2 separate regions of the Homo sapiens genome follow, and region 2 is linked to region 1. Evidence: promoter capture Hi-C in human tissues and cell types (Jung and others, 2019). All regions are on one chromosome and are shown on one strand. The core of a region is centred on a gene start or on the middle of the fragment in contact, and the rest is flanking DNA. Distances in the headings are between cores, read along the strand shown.

Region 1 (7,092 bases), core at 1,486-3,985:
CTACAAGGTTCTCTGGGCACTGCCCAGCCTGAGTCTCGGCCCTCACCCAGGGCCCTGCCTCGGGTCCTGGGCCTGCTCCCCGCTTCCTCCCCTTCAGTCAGCTCCCTCTGTCCTCTGTCAGCCTGGCCTGACCCCTACCCTCCAGCATTGCTCTTCCTACTGTACATATTGGGGAGTGGGGGGCAGGGTCGGGAAGGGACATGCCAGGCCAGGCCTGGGGCCCCGGGGCCTGACCCACACCACGCAGACCCCGGGCTCCAGTTTTTAACGATGGTTCCATCAATACCTGATCCAGAATGTTTCCGTGCTACACTTTGTGTCCTGCTGCAATGTGTTCTGTCTGTCCATCCATCTCTGCCCTCTGTACCGGACACTGTGTCTCCTCAGCCAGGAAGGGGTAATGAGCTCCAGCCCCTAAGCAACCGGACTTGCCTGCCTCGGCCTCACCCGCACTTCTCCCAAAAGGCAGATGACGGGGAGTTAGGCATGGGGAGCTCCAGAAGGTCACCAGAGAGCTTTCAGCTGAGGGAGAGTTCTCTAGGTTGGAGTGGGCATCACAGCCAGGGTGGCCTCTGGGTGTCAGATGCTCTCAGGAGGGTGCCCAGCCTGTGAGGCACTGGCAAGGTAGGGGGCAGATGGGGCATGGAGAACCCAGAGGATCTAGGCCCTGTTGGGGAGGGGAGGGGAGCTCAAGGTTTGGGTGGGGACTCAGCCCAGATCTACGTGAGACATTTTTCTGTGTCACTGTGGGAAAGCCTTCCCAGAAGTCTCACTGCGTGTTGCTCTGCGTGTGTTCCCATGTCCATGCGTGTGTTGAGAGCCCATCAGGAGGGCATGCATGACTCTTTGGCAACATGTATTATCTTGGAGCCACGTGTTTTTATTGCTGACTTTAAATATTTATCCCACGGCAGACAGAGACATTTGGTGTCTTTTTATAATTCGCTCGTGGTCATTGAATAGAGCAATAAACGGAGCATTTTGAGCAAAACTAACCTCCTGGGTCTGTGTGATTTGCCTCTCCCCTCCACTGCCTTCCTTCCTGTACTTGGGTCTTTGTGCCCCTCCCCAGCATGAGCACAGTGAGCTTGGCCCTTCTGCTCACTGGAGCCCCTTGTGGAGACTGGGAGTATGGAGCGAGTCCAAATTTGTAAAGCCAAACTGGGAACATTCTGCAGGATTCTCACACAGCCTCAGCCCTGGCCCTGACACATGCTCTGGGCCATGGGGAGCCTCAAGGACAGGTGTGGAAGGCTTCCAGGGAAGGCACAGTGGCTGGCAGGTCACCATTTCCAACAGATGTGCCAGAGAAGCCAAGGCTAGGGTAAGGAGACATTCAGGTCACACCCAGGCCCCTCCCTGTTGGCCAAACTCTTATCCCATGTTAGCTCCACAGATCCCAACAGCAGCTGCAGCCCAGTAATTTCCCTTGTAAGGCCTGGGCTCAGAGTAGCTCCTCCCAAGGGGCCCAGGGAATCTGCATGTGGGCTGAGATCCTGAGCCATCCTGGACACTCCTGCTCTATTCTTGTCCCCTGCCCCCCTGGGATGGAGCAAAAGTAGCCATGATGCCACTGCTGGCAGGTGGGGGTCACCCCAGGGCAGAAGGAGGGGTCCAGGGCAAGGGTGCTGACCAACAAGTCCTTACAAGGTGCCAGAACCTTGGGTGGGATCCAGGGTCCAGGCATGCGGGGTGTGCTACAGATGATGAGAAAACAACAGGGTGGGCTGGACACGGTGGCTCACGCCTGTAATCCCAGCACATTGGGAGGCCGAGGGGTGGCAGATCATGAGGTCAGGAGTTCGAGACCAGCCTGACCAACATGGTGAAACCCCATCTCTACTAAAAATACAAAAATTAGCCGGGCGTAGCGGTGCACGCCTGTAATCCCAGATACTCAGGAGGCTGAGGCAGGAGAATCGCTTGAACCTGGGAGGCAGAGGTTGCAGTGAGCCAAGATCGTGCCACTGCATCCAGTCTGGGTGACAGAGACTCCATCTCAAAAAAAAGAAAAGAAAAGAAAACAACAGGTGGCTGAAGCAGCCCAGATGGAAGTCCTTGAGAAGAGGTGGCCATACTCTCCAGTCACCCTCAAGCAGAGACCTCCCCACAACCCCCGGAGGATGGGCCCTCCTACTCTTCTACCCAGATTAGGGAGATTGGGCTGTTGAAGTGGGAAGAGGAAGGAGACCTAACATTTCCCTGTTCTTCCCCAGGGTGGCCTTGTAAAGATACTCAGGCTGTGTATGAACCACACATAGGAGTGCAACATGAATGGGAACCCCTGGATTTGTGTAGCAACGCAGCAGATCCCAGAGGCCCTCCCCAGTTCACCGTGTCCCAGTCCCTGGAAAATACAGACCTGTTGCTTTGCTCCCTGAGCCCTGCTGGACTATGCATGCACCTGTACCTGAGTGTGTGCCTGTGCACACACACTACCCTGAGCCCCTCAGCTCAGAGAGGTCCTACCCAGCAGCAGTGAGAGCCAAAACCTGTACCACAAGGGAACAAAAAAAGTACCCCTGGACTGCCACCCTCAGCCTCCTTCCCGCCTGGCCTTCAGTGTTTCCCCCAGCCTGGATCCAGCTTTGCTTCCCGCCTCCCTTCTCCACCGCCCTCCCCCTCCCCCCACAACCAAGCAGTGTGCCATCTAGCTGAGACAGCTGCAGAGCCTGACTAAGGAATCGCCCCCAGGGGGCCAGACATTTAAGGAACAGATGACACTGGTAGCCTCACTGTTGGGGCAAAGGAAGAAGGAGACGGGCCACCCTACAGTCCAGGCACTAGCTGAGCCTCCAAAGCCGTGGACACAGCATTCGAGTGTTGGGAGGGACTGGTCAGTGCTGAAGGTAAGGCTCCCCTCCTCCCTCAGGAAGGGGACAAAGCTGACCACCTTCTGAGCCCAGAGGGGACTATAGGGTAGAGGGCAGGAATAGGAACAGGGGAGTAGTCTCAGAACCCAAAGGTAGAAGCAGCCCAGGCAGAGATATATTAGGGGGTGGAGAGAGGGAATAGAGTTTAACCCCTAACTACCTGGGTTAAAGAAGGCTTTGGAGCCCTCTGGGACGCCACTGGACTGGAGTCAAAAGCTAGGAGTCTAGTCTGAGTGACCTTGGACAGGTCATTTCTTTCAGACATCAGTTTCCTCATATACGAAATAGGACTTTAAAAACTGCAATGCTGGGCCAGGCGCGGTGGCTCACGCCTGTAATCCTAGCACTTTGGGAGGCTGAGGTGGGCGGATCACGAGGTCAGGTATTCGAGACTAGCCTGGCCAACATAGTGAAACGCCATCTGTACTAAAAATACAAAAAATTAGCCGGGTGTGATGGCGGGTGCCTGTAGTCCCAGCTACTCGGGAGCCTGAGGCAGGAGAATTGCTTGAACCTGGGAGGCAGAGGTTGTCGTGGGCCAAGATCGTGCCACTGCACTCCAGCCTGGGCAACAGAGCAAGACTCTGTCTCAAAAAAACAAAAACAAAAAAACTGCAATGCTGGCCACATGCAGTGGCTCACACCTATAATCCCAGCACTTTGGGAGGCCAAGGCAGGCGGATCAATCGAGGCTAGGAGTTTGAGACCAGCCTGGCCAACAAGATGAAACCCTGTCTCTACTGAAAACACAAAAATTAGCTGGGCATGGTGGCACGTGCCTGTAAACCCAGCTGCTGGGGAGGCTGAGGCAGGAGAATGGCTTGAATTCGAGAGGAGGAGGTTGCAATGAGCCGAGATCACCCAAAAAAAACCGCAATGCTGGTTAAATAAAACATTGAGAAAACATGGTGCTCTGAACAGGAATGAGGAAACGCTATCATCTGGTATGGAAAAAATCTCCAAGACACATTAAATGAAAAAAGAAAGGGTCAGAATAGTGTGTATAATGGGCTACCTTATGTGCTTTTTTAATTAAAAAAAAAAAAGGAAGATGATAAGAACACATGAGTTTTCCTATTTGCATGATGGAGGTCTAGAAGGAGCCTAGAGACTGGCTACCTGTTGCAATGGGGAAGGTTGTAAGATAGACGCAGGAGTGGGAGGGAGCCTGTCCATATGGATTTTTATATTGTTTTATTCTTTAACTATGTGATTGAATTACCAGTTCAAAGAAAAATGTAAGAAAAACTAAACCTTTGCCTTTACCATGTCGCAAACACAAGCAGAATTGTAGTGATGTTTTGTCATCTGTTTTAGCATTCCACCAGTGCCGGGGTCCCCAGGGCCCAGGAATAAGAGACACAGCTTCCTTCTAAAGCCCACTCCAGTATGGCTTAGTCAGGAAGTTCTTTCTTAGGTCTGACTGCATTCCCTCCTGATGAAACATCCAGCACTGCCTCCTTAGTGCCATGTAGCTATCAATAGGTATCCTCAACTCCCTCCAGGCCTTACTTGGTTGGCTGGGTAAGTCTAAGCCCTATAACCTCTCCCTCTGAGACCCTGGAATAGTTTGGAGTTACTCAGTGAGAGGACAGGCCTATTGGGTCTGGTAACTAACCAGGAAAAGGAAGCTAGGAAATGAAGAAAAGAGAGCTCGACTGCTCTCCTGGCCCTCTCCTGTGTGCTTCCATCTCCTCTTATGTCTGAACACACACATAACATCTCTGAATCTCCCTCCTACTCCCTGTCTTGTCCTTCATGGCCTCATCCTCTTCCCCAGTCTCACAGGTGAGTGCCCACGCCTGCTGTCACCATGACAACCATTCACAGCCGGCAGATGCTGCAGGAGCACGTGTCCATGGAGTTCTCCAGCTCCACCACCCACGTGCAGACCTTCTCCCAGACAACCAAGATCGTGGGAGGCAAGTGGAATGGGGGCAGGGAAGGGATCGGGAAGGGCAGCTATTCTTCCTCCACACCCATCCCTTGGGTGGCCCCAGTTTTGCCACTAATGGGCCCCTCTGGAGCCCACAATACCAACAGCAACCCCCACCCAACGTGTGCTTCTAATCTTGGCTTTGTTAAAGCTTCAGCCAGCTGGATGTTCAACACAGATCAGATCTCCAGGAAAACAGCTTAGAAAAGATCAATCATGTGGATGTGTGTGAATGATTGATAAACTCTTAATTGCTGAAGGAGATCAGAGCCATAGGTGAACAGATTCTATCTCCAAAGGTAGAATTTCAGGCATAGGGGAAATTAGGAAGGTAGCCACCTTATCTACATATCAGTAATGCTGACCCTGCTCCACTTAAGAAATAGGAGACTTGGGGCTACCAGTGGAGAAAGAAGGTGAACACATAAACAAGAAGGTGACCTTACCTTCCAGGCTTTTAGCCCTCTGGGGCCAGACTTGGAAGAGGGCAGATCCAAGGGAAAGCTGAGAAATGGTCTCAGAGCTGAACAGAGTGTTTTAGTCACGTCTCTAGTGGAAAGAGATTAAAAGATGGCCGGGGGCCAAGACATTGGATACCCCTTCTCACAGTCATTGCCCCTCCCTCAAAGCCTCAAAGGGATAGAGTCCCTCAAAGTCCTCCGTGCACAGAGGTCAAGGCCAGATAAACACTCTATACCAACCAACACCTCCTGGCCAGTGAGGCAGAGCAAGTGGAACAGCTGGGACTCAAGGCCTATGGTCTAGACCAGAAGTTCCAAACTCAAGTGATTTACAGCAGTGATTCTCTGCTGTGGCCGCACATCAGAGTCACCTTAGTGCAGGGGGTGTGAGGAGGGCAAAAATATGGCAGTACCTGAGTCTCACCCCAGACCATTCAATCAGGTATTTCTTATAAAGTTCTCCATGGATTATATATGTGCAGCCAAAGCTGTAGACCACTGACCAACAGGGCCCAGGCAGGGAACATAAATGTGGGGAAAAGACTGGGGTAAACTAGAGACTGTATATCCCATCTAAAGGGGCAGCCACTATTCACCTCCCACTGACTGTTGCCATATGGGAATACAGGTTCAGTGTTGAGAATCCAGAAATCTGAATTTTTATGTGAAATCTTTCTCTTTCAGATGTAGGGCTACTTTTTTGTTTAAACATTGTGGAGGTCACATAAAAGACATCTGCAGGCCAGGTGTCCACTGCACTCTGCCTGTTTGAGACCTCTTGTTAGTATTTAAAAGCAGGCCATGAGAGCTTCTTAACACACTTTTCCCCCTCTGTCAGATTAGTGGGATAATAAAGGCACCTACTTCAGTGGGATGCTGTGAAGATGGAATAAAATCATCTCTGATATGTGCCTAGCACAGTTCCTGACTCAAGGAAAGTGTTCCATGATTCAGAGCAATTGTTGTGAATTGATAACTCACCAGCCAAGAAGATTGTCTGTAGTTTTATACTGCAAAAACAGTTTTTTTTGTTTTCCAAATATAAAATTATATTTCCACATTGAAGATGTGCTTTCAGATAAGGATATTCCCATATATAGCTCCACTGGAGTGGGACTGTGTCGTGTCCTGTCCCTCACTCAAGAATCACTACTCCCAAGGCAATGAATGCTGAACCCACAGAATGGCAGGGAGAAAATCTAGAGCAGAGCTCAGCCAAGCTGCAGACCTCCCAGGCAGAAGCAGGCCTAGCCCCTCTTAATGCTACTGGGGGACCAGGACTTCCAGGAGAGAAGCCTAAGAGACCAAGAAAATTCCAAAAGAGAAGCCTCCTTTAAAAAAAAAAATTAGGACTCAGGGCTGTGGCCCCATAAAGGTAATGGACCACTGAGGTGTGGGAAAGGAGTTCGCCTCCCCTAGTGGTTGAAACTTGCCATAACACAATGGCCCATCGACTCACCCTGCTTTCTCCCCATGTAGCTGGTCCTGCTCCCACTTCCCTAAATGCTCTTTGTTCCCATGCTCCACCGTCCTCTCAAGAAAGCTCTGTCCTCCCATCGCGAGCTGGGCTTCTACCTGGAGCCCATTCTGACCTCTCGCCTGCCCCCACAGAGGAGGTCGTGAGGAGGAAGTCCTCGAGCATAGTGGAGTTCTTCAGCTTAGTGACCCGGAGCTCAAACATCCCTGCGGGCGACAGCGTCCCTGAGTTCGTGGAGAAGCCTCAACCGGTCACCGCGCCCGAGGGTGTGTTGCTGCCTGTGGCTCACCGGGCTCCAGTGCTTCGCTTTCTAATCGAGTGCCCCCACCCTCCGTCCTACCCCAA
Region 2 (7,092 bases), core at 3,240-5,739, 160 kb after region 1:
CCGGCTACTTGGGAGGCTGAGGCAGTAGAATGGTGTGAACTCAGAAGGTGGAGCTTGCAGTGAGCCAAGATTGCACCACTGCACTCCAGCCTGGGCGACAGAGCGAGACTCCGCCTCAAAAAAAAAAATATGTTTATATGTACCAGAAAGCTAGTAGGGCTGGAGGACAGGGGTATATTGGAGTCCAGTGAGGTTGGAGTAAAGAATGCCTTAGGATTATCACTTTTTATTTTATAGACAGCTTATAAAAAGGTGTATAATTGTAGATGCATTTTACTTTGTTTTATGGTTTTCTATATTTTTATATAGAAAACATTTAAAAAGAAGAAAAAAGAAATAGAAAAAACAAAGGACATACTTCGGATTATCAGTAGTAGGAGTTGACATTTTACTTTGTGAACATTTATGTTATTTGCATTACCTGATGATTTAAATAAGATTGCCAGTTAAATGTGATGAATGGGGCATAATAAAAATTTGTCAGTTGGAAGGACAAAAATGGATCTTACTCTTAATTTTCAGTTGTTTGGTTATTTGAGAAATTGAAATCATTTTCATTTACTTATCAATCGTACGTTTCTTCCTTTTTGAATTGTCTGTTTCTCTCCTCCATCCATTGTTACACCCTTCTTTAAACAAAACAAAACAAAACTATCCTCGAGTAGTATTTTGACATCTGTACCATGTTGCAGGAATTCATGTATCCTGTTTCTTCTCTCTGGTTTTCATTGGCATCTCTTTTCATAATTTTGTTTGTTTAATAAATCCTCGGGGATAGTCTTATAATCTAGTGAAAGTTGTGTTTAATTTTAGTTTAGACAGTTCTGATTTTATTTTACTGTTCTGAGCCTCTTTATTATAAGCTAAAACTAGTCTCTTTTTTTGAGACAGGGTAATGCTGTCTTCACCCGTGCTGGAGTGCAGTAGCACAATCATAGCTCACTGTACCCTCAAATTCCTGGGCTCAAGTGAGTTTCCCACCTCAGCCTTCTGAGTAGCTGGGACTACAAGCATGGTCTACCATCCACTACTAATTTTAAAATTTTTTGTACAGACAGGATCTCCCTATGTTGTCCAGGCTGGTATTGAACTCCTGGGATCAAGGCATCCTCCCACCTCAGCCTCCCAAAGTGATGGGATTACAAGTGTGAGCCACAGTGCCCCCACTTAAAACTAGTCTTAAAAAGACATTACATTATTTAAATTGCCCTATTTAAAAGTACTGCAGCACCTTTAAGTTCCACATGCAGTTGGAATTATAATTATGTAGCATAATTTTATAGAACTTTGGAGCTAGAAGGAATCTAGAGGTCATCTAGGCCAGGGTTTGCAATTTCTCTGAGAGATTCAGAGGGCCGCGTTAGGCCTATGGAATTTGTTTGAACAGCACAGTTCGTTTTGTTTTACCTTGTTTTGTTTTGTTCTTAATGTAAATTTGAATGCCTATTGGCATGCTGTTTCCAATTTGCCACAATAACCGTCTCTCCAGATTTTCTTGTACTTGCCAGCTTCACACATTTAACGTTACCTGCTTGGTCCCCAAAGGTATTTGAATTCTTGGCCCTAATAGCCTCTTCTTACTTTATAAATAGTGAAACTCAGACTCTGAGAAATTAAGCACTTTTTAAATGAGCATACTACTAAATATTCCCAGGAATAATAATAAACATCTGTTTTACACTCACGGCGTATAGTTTGCATTCATTGACTCATTTATTGCTCATAACAACCATTTGGGATTTATTATTCACTTTGTATTACTGATGACACTGAAGCTCAGAAAGGTTAGTGAATTTCATCAAGGTTGCTTAACCAATTACATTAAAAGAATACAGTACCAGATTAGATACTATTAGTGTTAATTTTCTGATTTGATAACGGTTAAAAGGAGAATGTCTTTTTCTTTTAGGAAATATACATTAAAGTACTTAGGGGTAAAAGGACATCATGTTTGCAGTTTACTTGTTCAGTTTGTTCAGAAAAACTAGAGAGAGAAAGACTAAACAAGCAAATGTGATCAAATGTTAACATTTGAGTAATCTAGGTGAAGAGTATATGTACTATTTTTGCAACTTTTCTGTAAGTCTGAAATTATTTCAAAATGAAAAGTTAAAAAAAGGAGAGTTCCTAAACCTAGGTATTCGGCTATTAAGCATATTCATGCTATTTTTCTACTTTTGGGAAATGTTGAATTAGCATTTCTTCTTCCTTTATTTTTCAGTTAAAAGTATTCAGTAATTTTTCATGAAAAGCATTACAACAGTTAAAAGTATCATATAATGTGTATGATGATTTTTGAAAAATGAGAACATGATTGAATGCTTCTTTTTGACTAACTCTAAAAGAATGTATAGGTTAAAAAAGATTTTTTGTTTGTTTTGTTTGGAGATGAAGTCTCATTCTGTTGCCCAAGCTGGAGTATAGTGGTGCAACCATAACTCACTGCATCTGAAACTCCTGGGCTCAAGTAATACTCCTGCCTCAACAAAGGTAGTATTCTTCAGCAAAATTTTTGTGTAACTTTTCTGTTTTTTGTGTATTCTACAGCCTAAATCTGTCATTGTTGGATTAATTAAAGAAATGATTGCCAAGTTTCAAGAGGAACTTCCCATGTATTCTCTATCATCATCTGATGAGGCACGGCAGGTAGACTTGCTAGCCTATATTGCAAAAATCACTGAAGGTTTGTATATTTGTCAGGCAGATTATCTTGAGAGTTATGAGTTACCAGTTTCTCACTAAACTCCTTTACTTTCTGCCACTTGATTTTTATAAATAAATTTGTGTGCGTATGTACATCTGTTTTTGAAATAAGAAATTCCTGTGCCTCAGGCCAGGCGCAGTGGCTCACTCCTGTAATCCCAGGACTTTGGGAGGCTGAGGCAGGCAGATCACCTGAGGTCAGGAGTTGGAGACCAGCTTGGCCAACATGGTGAAACCCTATCTCTACTAAAAATAAAAAAAGTAGCTGGGCGTGGTGGCAGGTGCCTGTAATCCCAGCTACTTGGGTGGCTGAGGTGGGAAAATTGCTTGAATCCGGGAGGCAGAGGTTGCAGTGAGCTGAGATTGAACAACTGCACTCCAGCCTGGGCAACAGAGCAAGACTCCATCTCAAAAAAAAAAAAAAAAGAAAAAAAAAGTAATTCCTTTGCCTTTATCACAGGGTATTACCATGTAATTCCAATAAATATTATTTATTTTTTTATTTTTTTGAGATGGAGTCTCGCTGTGTCACCCAGGCTGGAGTGCAGTGGTACCATATGGGCTCATGCAACCTCTGCCTCCTGGGTTCAAGCGATTCCCCTGCTTCATCCTCCCATGTTGCTGGGACTACAGGCATGCCCAGCCAATTTTTGTATTTTTGATAAGAATGAGGTTTTGCCATGTTGGCCAGGCTGGTTTTGAACTCCTGACCTCAGGTGATCCTCCCGCCTTGGCTTCCCAAAGTTCAGGGATTACAGGCATGAGCCACCGGGCCTGGCCAGGTTTCTTAAAGTGTAAAGAATTGGTCTTAAACAGATAAAACAATTCTTGTTCAAAACCACTTGCTGTATATTAATGATCCCAAACTTTTTTTCATGATATGTATATGTGGCTTGTTGGCTTATTCAATATATTGGATCAGAATATCTATGATTCTCATCAAGAATAAAGGCAAATACCTATGTTTGAAACATTTGGTAAGGTGTTAGACATATTTTTTTATTGTAGACCAGAGCAATGAGTTGGAATATTTTTCAGAATTATGGAAATCCTACTTTTTTAGAGTCTTATACAATATTTTAAAAATGTTTAGAAAGATACATTCTCTTTAGAAGGATAATTTCTATTTAGTCGACTATTTAATAGGAAACGTCTGCCTTCCTTGCATTCATTTGTTCAGTAGTATTTTTTGCCCATTATGGACTAGCACCATATTTTCTCTCTAAGCTATGAAGCCTGCTATATATTTTTTTTAAAGATCCTAAAAAAATTCTTGATATTTTTGAATTCTCAGGATAATTCACCTTTCTTTCTAGGTGTTTCAGATACAAATTCAAAGAGCTGGGCAAATCATGAGAATAAAACAGTCAATAAAATTACTGTGGTTGGAGGTGGAGAACTCGGTATTGCCTGCACATTAGCAATTTCAGCAAAGGTATGTAAACATAGTGGTTATAAATACATCTATCATAGTGCCACACTTCTAGGCAGGTTGTGTTTTACACACCAAAAAATGCCTTCATTTTGTCGTGGGAAAACCTTATTTTGGCTTAAAATATATTTAGTAAGTTGACAAAAAAGTTGAAAGCTTTCATCAGTGATGTTGCCTTTTAATTAGTAGGTTTAAAAAAGTGATTTGAACAATGGGCTTATCCTCATCCAAGGGAAAGCTCAATTTGACATTCATATGACTTAATCACAAATTCTTTTGTATTTTCTGAATCATGCCACTTTAATTAAACTCATTTAATGTAGTAATTTTAGCTCTTTCTAAAATTGGCTTTTTTTTTTTTAAAGATGGCCTTTTCTTACATAATTACTTTCTTTTAGGATCACAGTTTCTGAGTTGATATTTAATACTAGTTTAGGGTTTGTTTTTTTCATCAGTCCTTTTTACTAGTGTCTGCATAAATTGTTTGCAGGAAAGCTTAAATGCCCTTCCAGAGAGGTTCAAAAGACCTGCCTGCCTCCCTCCAGAGCCTAGTATCATGATAACAGCATGTCTTTTGTCATTTGAGAGATGTAGCCCTGAATAGAATAGCTGTACCTCTATATATTTATTTGGTGGCTGGCATTAGTTTTTCTTTTCTATATATATTTGATTGTTTTGCCATCTAAATTCTTCCCTTTCCATTTAAGACTCACATATGTCTTGGAGGTGGGTTCTACTGCAGCAAATAATTAAATTATATCCATGGAGCTAGAATATCTTAAAAGCTGGCTGCTCAGAGTTAAATATGCCAACTTTTGGCATGCTGTAGTTTTATTTCTTTCACCCTCCATTTGAATACACTATCACCTCTTTTTTTTTTTTTTTTTTTTTAGGTGGAGTCTCGCTCTGTTACCCAGGCTGGAGTGTAGTGGTACAATCTTGGCTCACTACAGCCTCCGCCTCCTGGGTTCAAGCGATTCTCCTGCCTCAGCCTCCAGAGTAGCTGGGACTACAGGCATGCGCCACGACGCCCAGCTAATTTTTGTATTTTTAGCAGAGACAGGGTTTTGCCATGTTGGCCAGGCTGGTCTCGAACTTCTGACCTCAAGTGATCCACCTGCCCTGGCCTCCCAAAGTGCTGGGATTACAAGTGTGAGCCACCGTACCTGGCCTGCTATTACCTCTTAATTAGAATTTGAGTTGTATTCAGTCTTTTGTCACTAAATAAATGCTTCTATAAACATTTCAAGTTGCTTGTTTTCTCATCTGAATTTTTATTTGGTCATACATTATTTTATTTTATTTAGACAGGGTCATGTTCTGTTGCACAGGCTGGAATGCAGTGGTGCAATCTCAGCTTACTGCACCCTCCACCTCCCCAGCTCAAGCCATCCTCCCACCTTAGCCTCCCAAGTAGCTGGGCTTACAGGCGCCAGCAACCATCCCCACTAATTCTTGTATTTTTTTGTAGAGACAGAGTTTCACCATGTTGCCCAGGCTGGTCTTGAATTCCTGGGCTCAAGCAATCTTCCTGCCTCAGCCTCCCAAAGTGCTGGGAGTACAAGCATGCCCCACTGCACCCGGCCTGGTTGTACATAATTTTAAAAAATAGTACTAGTGAGTCAGAGGGCATGAATGGTTTTTATAGCACTTATGACATAGTGCCAGATTGCTCTTTGGAAAGGCAGAACTAATTTATGCTGCTAATAACATGCACATCAACCTGATTTTTGACATCCCTAACAGTACTAAGTTTTATTTATTTGTAATTATTTGTCTTTTTTTTTTTTTGGTAAGCACAAGAAGGCATCTGAAAGTCTGAAAGTCATGGTTTTTCATTTTTGTTTTTGAGACCAGGTTTCTCTCTGTAGCCCAAGTTGGCATGCACTGGTATGATCATGGCTTACTGCGGTCTCTATCTCCTGGGCTTAAGAGATCTTCCCACCTCAGCCTCCTGAGTAGCTGGGACCACAGGGGTGTGCCACTACACCTAGGTAATTTTTAGTTTTTTTGTAGAGATAGGTCTCCCTGTGTTGCCTAGATTGGTCTTGAACTCCTGGTTCAGACTATCTTCCTGCCTTGGCCTCCCAAAGTGCTGGGATTACAGGCATGAGTCACTGCTCCTGGCCATGTTTTTAAACTGTTAGAAGAATCTCACTGTCATTATTTGTCTGTGAATTGTCTGGGTGGAAAATTTGCCGTTTTTCAGCTGGGCCCGGTGGCTTACACCTGTACTCCCAGCACTTTGGGAGGCCAAGGCAGGAGAATCAGTTGAGCCCAGGAGTTTGAGACCAGCCTGGGCGACACAGCGAGATCCCCATTTCTACAAAAAAAATTTTTTTTTTTTTCTTTGGAGATGGAGTCTCGCTGTGTCTCCCAGGCTGGAGTGCAGTAGCATGATCTCAGCTCACTGCAACCTCCATCTCCCGGGTTCAAGTGATTCTCCTACCTCAGCCTCCCGAGTAGCTGGGATTACAGGCGTGTGCCACTACACCCAGCTAATTTTTGTATTTTTAGTAGAGAGGGGGTTTCGCTATGTTGGCCAGGCTGGTCTCGAGCTCTTGACATCAGGTGATCTGCCTGCCTCAGCCTCCCAAAGTGCTGGGATTACAGGTGTCAGCCACTGCCTCCACCCTACAAAAATTAAAAATTAGCTAGGTGTGGTGGTGCACACTGGTAGTCCCAGCAACTTGGGTGGCTGAGGATTGCTTGAGCCTGGGAGGTTGAGGCTGCAGTGAGCTGCGATTGTGCAGTTGCACTCTAGCCTGGGCGACACAGTGAGACCCTGTCTCAAAAAAAAATTCTGTTTTTCTTTTTAGACGTTAATATTTTGATACAAAGTACAATATTCATAGGCCACTATTATGACTGCAACAGTGATAGTACTCATAATAGTGGCAACAAAAGTAGTGGTGGTAGCAGCAGCAACTAACCTTTACACAATGCTTATTAGGTAC

The links. The method cuts DNA at HindIII sites, captures the fragments that hold promoters and counts their contacts. A contact is called where the count stands out against the background at its distance.
Region 2: a contact is called between a fragment that was not itself captured here and the fragment with the promoter of IGSF22 in region 1, in 1 of the 25 tissues and cell types used here (lymphoblastoid cells).

Annotation. Positions count from the first base shown.
Region 1 is chr11:18,721,831-18,728,922 of GRCh38, reverse strand. It overlaps IGSF22 (immunoglobulin superfamily member 22), which reads left to right and starts at 2,735. Exons shown (of 23, transcript NM_173588.4): 1 at 2,735-2,849; 2 at 4,654-4,795; 3 at 6,882-7,013. The coding sequence starts at 4,687. The region is part of intron 2 of IGSF22-AS1 (IGSF22 antisense RNA 1); the gene reads right to left. It overlaps PTPN5 (protein tyrosine phosphatase non-receptor type 5), which reads left to right. Exons shown (of 15, transcript NM_006906.2): 15 at 1-995. The HindIII fragment of the contact is 11,359 bases long and covers 1-6,982 here.
Region 2 is chr11:18,561,938-18,569,029 of GRCh38, reverse strand. It overlaps UEVLD (UEV and lactate/malate dehyrogenase domains), which reads left to right. Exons shown (of 12, transcript NM_001040697.4): 5 at 2,548-2,683; 6 at 4,020-4,138. Among named protein-coding and RNA genes, the nearest start is that of UEVLD, 23 kb to the left of the region's middle. The HindIII fragment of the contact is 5,839 bases long and covers 1,570-7,092 here.